Linked DNA regions of Homo sapiens: region 1 is linked to region 2. Evidence: promoter capture Hi-C in 16 types of primary human blood cells and fetal thymus (Javierre and others, 2016). All regions are on one chromosome and are shown on one strand. Each heading gives the region's core, a stretch centred on a gene start or on the middle of the fragment in contact. The rest is flanking DNA. Distances are from core to core; before and after follow the strand shown. Region 1 overlaps FLJ12825 (a long non-coding RNA gene). Region 2 holds the start of SMUG1 (single-strand-selective monofunctional uracil-DNA glycosylase 1).

Region 1 (2,926 bases), core at 50-2,549, 120 kb before region 2:
CAGCTTAAACAACAGAAATTTATTTTCTCATAGTTCTGGAGGCTAGAAGTCCAAGATCAAGGTGTTAGCAGAGTTGGTTTCTTCTGAGGCCTCTCTCCTTGGCTTGTAGATGTCTGTTGTCTCCCTCTGCTTTGTCTGTGTCCTAATCTCTTTTTTTTTTTTTTTGAAATGGATTTTCACTCTTGTTGCCCTGGCTGGAGTGCAATGGCACGATCTCAGCTCACTGCAACCTCCACCTCCCAGGTTCAAGAGATTCTCCTGCCTCAGCCTCCCAAGTAGCTGAGATTACAGGCGCAAGCCACCATGCCTGGCTAATTTTTGTATTTTTAGTAGAGACACGGTTTCACCATGTTGGTCAGGCTGGTCTCGAACTCCTGACCTCAGGTGATCCGCCCACCTCGGCCTCCCAAAGTGCTGGGATTACAGGCATGAGCCATCGCACCTGGCCTGCTGATCTCTTCTTATAAGGACAGTAGTTATATTTAATTAGAGCCTACCCATATAATCTTGCCTTAACTTAATTACCTCTTTAAAGGGCCTATCTCCAAATACAGTCACATTCTGAGTTACTGAGGGTTAGGACTTCAAGAAATGGAACTTGCGGAGACACAATTCAGCCCTTAACTGACACCATGACTCTGGATTCCTAGTCCGCTGCCATTGTGCCCATGTCAGACTAAGTCATCTGGTGGATCCTATTCTTAAGTTGGCTCAATTTTGTTATGTTTCTTAGGGATGGGGAAGCTGTTTAGAGCCAACGTGAAATTGAAAACTGTTTCCTGGAGCCAAGGCCCATTGGGAAACTGAGTGAGCATGGGCTGGGGAATCCGGGATTAGGCTGACCACCAAACACTGGGAAATGGAAGTTTCTAACCAGAATCTTGGAACTGGAAAGAACTCAGTGAGGTTAACTTAGCCATCTCAGATGGAGGAGAACTTACCTGGTATGTTCAGAGAACACAACTGTCTGAGAGCTCTCATCACTGATATATTCTTTCTTATGTGTATTCAGATTCTTCAGGCCAAGCTCAAACCCCTATCCCTTGCCTCCAGTCCTCAGCGTTGGACAGTAAGATAAAACTCATCCAATAAGAGAGGTTTTCTCCCTTGAAGCTTGAAGAAGCCTTGACAAGATCTTAAGGAAATTTTTTTATTCAAGAGAGCCTCTTTCTCTCCTCATCTGAGGCTGGAGGTGGGGAATTTAGAGGCAAAAACTTCCCTTACCCCGTTGTTGTCTGTCCTAAGACCTTCAGCCCCTTATCTGGGCCCTGGCCAGCTCTAGAAAATGGATTAAGGTGAGTTGATATGTAATGTGGTACAGAAGCAGGGAGAGGGGAGAAGCCCTCTAATATCGCAGAGATCACAGATGGCTCCAGTGGGATTATGGGGCATGGTGTATGATGAGGCTTGTGCCAAAAAGTGGCCACAACCAGGAAGAAGGGTCCATCTTATTATGATGGTTGGTGACTCTCCCTGCCATGGAGAGCAAGCTTGGATTCTGGGGTTTGGAGGGAGCAACTCCAAAAATATCCAGCTGAAACACACAGAGCCAGAGTCAGCATGGTGCTGGGACTAGTACTGGTTCAGGGATCAGAACACCTGGGTTCTGATCTCTGTCTGAGCCTCAGTTTCTCTTCCTTCACAATGAAGTGGTTTGATTAGGTTATCACTAAGATCCTTCCAGCTCTGAGACTCTAAGCAAAAACTGAAGGATGCTGGGGGGCAGGGAGAAGGAATACTCTTTGTAGCAAATCAGATGATGGACTATGTGTCTCTGTGAACCAAACCAGGCACAGAAAACTCTCCATCTTCATTCCAGAGTTGGTGGGGGGTGGGGGAGTAGGGGGTGTTAGCTGTGGTGTCTCCTTATTTGACAACTCAACCTTTTCCACAGAGCCCCTGCAGACACACTATGGGGAGCTGTTTCCCTTAAGGACCCTGCCCCTGAGGGAAGAGAGGCAGAAACAAGATGGGGCAGGAAGTTGGAAAGGGTGTCTGCATGATGCCAATAGCCAGGTGAAAACAGAGAAATCAGCCCACTATCTGCTTAGTTTCAAATAGAATAAAGGGATCCAATTTTGTAGCTTTCATCTGATGTAATGGATAATGAGATGCAGGATCAGCCTTTTGCAGTGATTCAGTTTAAAGCCCCTGGGAAGGATCTGTTTCCCCCTCCCCAATTATCCTGCCACAAAAAAGCCTTAAGTTCCACCATTAAAGCACATGGTGTTAAGTACAGTCCTCTGCAGATCACATCCTTTAAAATACAAAAGCACCACTGGGATACTTCATCAAACAAGGATAGAATCAGAAAAGTAGTGCTTAGGGGGTATGCTTAGGGAGATGAGGGGCCCTGAAGATTAATCTCTAGATACTTCTCAGTTTCACATTGCCTGATCCTTGTGGGAAAGCTAGATTCTGCCTGAGGAAGTGGGAACTCAGGGACTCCCCTAGAAACCAGATGCCTGCAATTATGAGTATATTTCTAGTCCTGGGAAATGGGTGGACTCTAAGTGGTGAGGGTAGTTATCACACCAAAAAATCACAGAGGCTGCCAGTAAAACTTAAATCAGGGGGATGGAAATTCTGATAATATACGTGCATTTGGGTCAGCCACTATAGAAACCAGTGTAGAAGTACTTCATGGGGCCCCCTGTATGTCCAGAGGATATAAAACTATTCCAGAGGGGGAAAAATCCCTTCCATTTCTATGATTATCTACTGTATATCTAACCCATAAGGCATGGTTTGAAAGTATTAAAACCTAGCAGATAGGGAAACACACAGCCAGGGTTCAGATCTAGTGATGTGACCTTGGGTGGGTGACTTAACCTTTCTGAGAATAGATTTCCTCATCAAATTCAGTATAAAGCAACTGGCATATAGTAATCTTCTAGAAATGGAAACTATTATAGTTATGAGTACT
Region 2 (2,946 bases), core at 353-2,852:
GTCCAGGTGGCTACCCAGGACAAACTGGGCTCATACAAAAGCTGAGAAGGGTGCTGTGGAGAACGCCAGTGTTTCAGGGGACCTTGCTTTGCATCTCCCCATGCAACACCAACATTAGCAGATTGGCTGCTCCAGCTCTAGAATCTCGAGAAGTCTTGAGCCCACCTTTGACATTTAGACACCTGTGTTGGAAACAGCAAGGCTGGGGAAAAGAGTGGCAAGATACTACTTTCATTGTTCCATAACTTCAAAGCCTGATCTCATAGCAAGAGCCACAGGCTGGAAGTCAATTGATTTGAATTCTACTCCTGTTTCATCTCTAAGAAGGTTCTCTTGAGCAACTCATTTAACTCTCTTCTCTATGGAAAATCACATACTCCATCCAACCTACCACCTGTTAACTCATTTTTTTTTTCAATACTTATGAGTCTCTTACATGACAGGCACTGCAGCAGTCTCTTGATGAGGAAGAAATCCAAAAAGAGTAAAATGTAGGCCAGGCTTTCTGTAAGCTCATAATCTGCTGTGAGGGCAAATAAACAACTAACTGTAATACAGTGTGATGTGAGCTTTAATACCCGGAACAAAACACTAAGAGAACCCAAAGGAGGAACTTGTAAGTTCTACCCAAAGTCGCCCCAAGAGCCAGAGGCTTAAGAAATGTAGATATTTTATAAAATACGGTGTCATACTACATTAAGCACAAAGACAGCGGAGTTGGACCAAGCGATAAGGCTGACCACCAAGGGCCGACTTCAGACTGATGTCAGACTTCTCTGACATCAAATCCGGGAAGTGAGGAAGGAATCGAAATCACATATGCACTCCCCTGTCCTTTGGAGGCACTCCGGGAGTCCAGGGACAATAATAAATATCCTTAAACGAAATAATAATAATAATAATAATAATAATAAATAATAATAATAATAATAATAATAATAATAATAATAATAATAATGCATAGGCCGGGCGCGGTGGCTCACACCCGTAATCCGAGCACTTTGGGAGGCCGAGGCGGGCGGATCACGAGGTCAGGACTTCGAGACCAGCCTGACCAACATGGTGAAACCCAGTCTCTACTAAATACAAAAATTAGCTGGGCATGGTGGCGCGCGCCTGTAATCCCACCTACTCGGGAGGCTGAGGCAGAAGAATCGCTTGAACCCGGGAGGCGGAGGCTGCAGTGAGCTGAGATCGCGCCATTGCACTCCAGCCTGGAATTCAGAGCAAAATTCCGTCTCAGAAAAATAAATAAATAAACAATAATAATAATAAAGCATAAACTCAAAAAGACCATTTCATCTGGTTCCAAAGGGGCCGACTACTAAGGCACCATACAAAACCTCCGGGGGCGCCCGCTGGCTCCGGCCGACTGGAAAGCCTTGATCCTGCAGACCTCCCAGGCGGTTTCATAGGCTGGGCTCTCCCTGCACTGAGTCTTACCCCATACGGAGGGAGGGACCCCAAAATATAGAAATTCTAACCACCCTCTCGGCTCAGCCCCGACGACCCTGGGAGCCGTCAACTTGCCCCCACAGTCCCGGATTCCCAGCCCCCTACTTCCTCACCTGGTCCAGCTCCCCATCCCGTTTCCGGTTCCTTTCCCCCACCCCAAACCCAACCCCCGGCGCTAAGGACAGTGGGAGTCGTAGTCTACATTGTTTAGGGAAGGAGATTGGCGTACCCGCAGCCACTTCCGCCGGAAATGCTCCAATCCCGGAAGGCGCACTAAATTAGCCCTAAAGATCGCTGGGAATTGTAGTTTAATCTTTCCATCAGCGTTAAATCAGGAAGTCTTGAGAAGTGAAAAGCCACAGCCTGTAAGTACCTAGGAAATCCTGGGTTCTATCCCTAAAGGGCATCGCCCTTCCAAAAGTTCATTCACTATTTTCCCAAAGGGATTGCAAATCAGGAAGCTTCAACCATCCCCAATCCCTCACCCACCTGAAGGTATTAACAATAGCTAAAGACCATTGCTAGGCCCCCTGCCACCGTGGGTATAAGAGACTTCTCCTTTGCAGCCTGCCATTACTTATACAGAACATCCACGAAGACATTTCTGGTAGCTCCTAACAACTTTTTAGCAAGGGGCATCCCCCATTACTGTCCAAGCCCATCTCCAGAGTGTCACCATTTTGACTTCTTTCTCTGCCTTGCTATCTGCCCAACCCTATAACCTCAGTATTAGTCAAGAGTTTTCCAGAGAACAGAACTAACAGGATATCTATCTATATGACGAGATTTATTCCAAGAATTGGCTCACAGGATTGTGGAGGCCAAGAAGTCCCACAGTCTCCCGCTCTGCTGTCTATACACTGGAGAACCAGGAAAACAGGTGGTATAATTCAGGAAAGTCCAAAGCAGGGGAGGAGGCTCACTGCTAAGTCCCAGAGCCTGAAGGACGAAGAACCAGGAACTCCAATGATGTCCAAAGGCAGGTAAAATAGATGTCCCAGCTCATGAAGAAAGAGAATTTGCCTTCCTCCACTCTTTTGTTCTACTGGCCCCCAAGGGATTGGATGGTTCCCACCCATATTAATGAGGGTGATCTTCTTAGTCTACCAATTCAAATGCAAATCTCTTCCAGAAACACTCCACAGACATATCCAGAAATAATGTTTTACCAGCTATCTGGGTGTCCCTTAGACCACTCAAGTAGACACATAAAGTTAGCTATCACTCTTCCATCCAAATCTTCTCCCTCAAATACTTTGTCCAGGAAGGCTTCCCTGATCAATCCTCATCCCATGGCTGCACCTAACAGTCCATTCCCCCACCATTCCCCCATCCCAATATCTATGTCCAAATCTGTCCTATTCCTAGTTTTGTTCTTGTGCTCTATCTGGGTCTGGTTCTGTGTCGTGACTCTAAAACTTTCATTAGACTGGGAACCCCCTAAGGTTAGTTATCTTCTATATTCCTCCCACCCCACAATCTCCACACACC

The links. The method cuts DNA at HindIII sites, captures the fragments that hold promoters and counts their contacts. A CHiCAGO score of 5 or more calls a contact.
Region 1: a fragment that was not itself captured here is called in contact with the fragment with the promoter of SMUG1 in region 2 in 2 of 17 cell types (total B cells and naive B cells); the score reaches 6.1 in total B cells.

The regions. Positions count from the first base shown.
Region 1 is chr12:54,069,645-54,072,570 of GRCh38, forward strand. The region is part of intron 1 of FLJ12825 (a long non-coding RNA gene); the gene reads left to right. Among named protein-coding and RNA genes, the nearest start is that of FLJ12825, 13 kb to the left of the region's middle. The HindIII fragment of the contact is 377 bases long and covers 1,112-1,488 here.
Region 2 is chr12:54,187,383-54,190,328 of GRCh38, forward strand. SMUG1 (single-strand-selective monofunctional uracil-DNA glycosylase 1) reads right to left here and starts at 1,603. Exons shown (of 4, transcript NM_001243787.2): 1 at 1,569-1,603; 2 at 437-520. It overlaps LOC105369777 (a long non-coding RNA gene), which reads left to right and starts at 1,715. Exons shown (of 3, transcript XR_944984.2): 1 at 1,715-1,820. The HindIII fragment of the contact is 2,636 bases long and covers 1-1,914 here.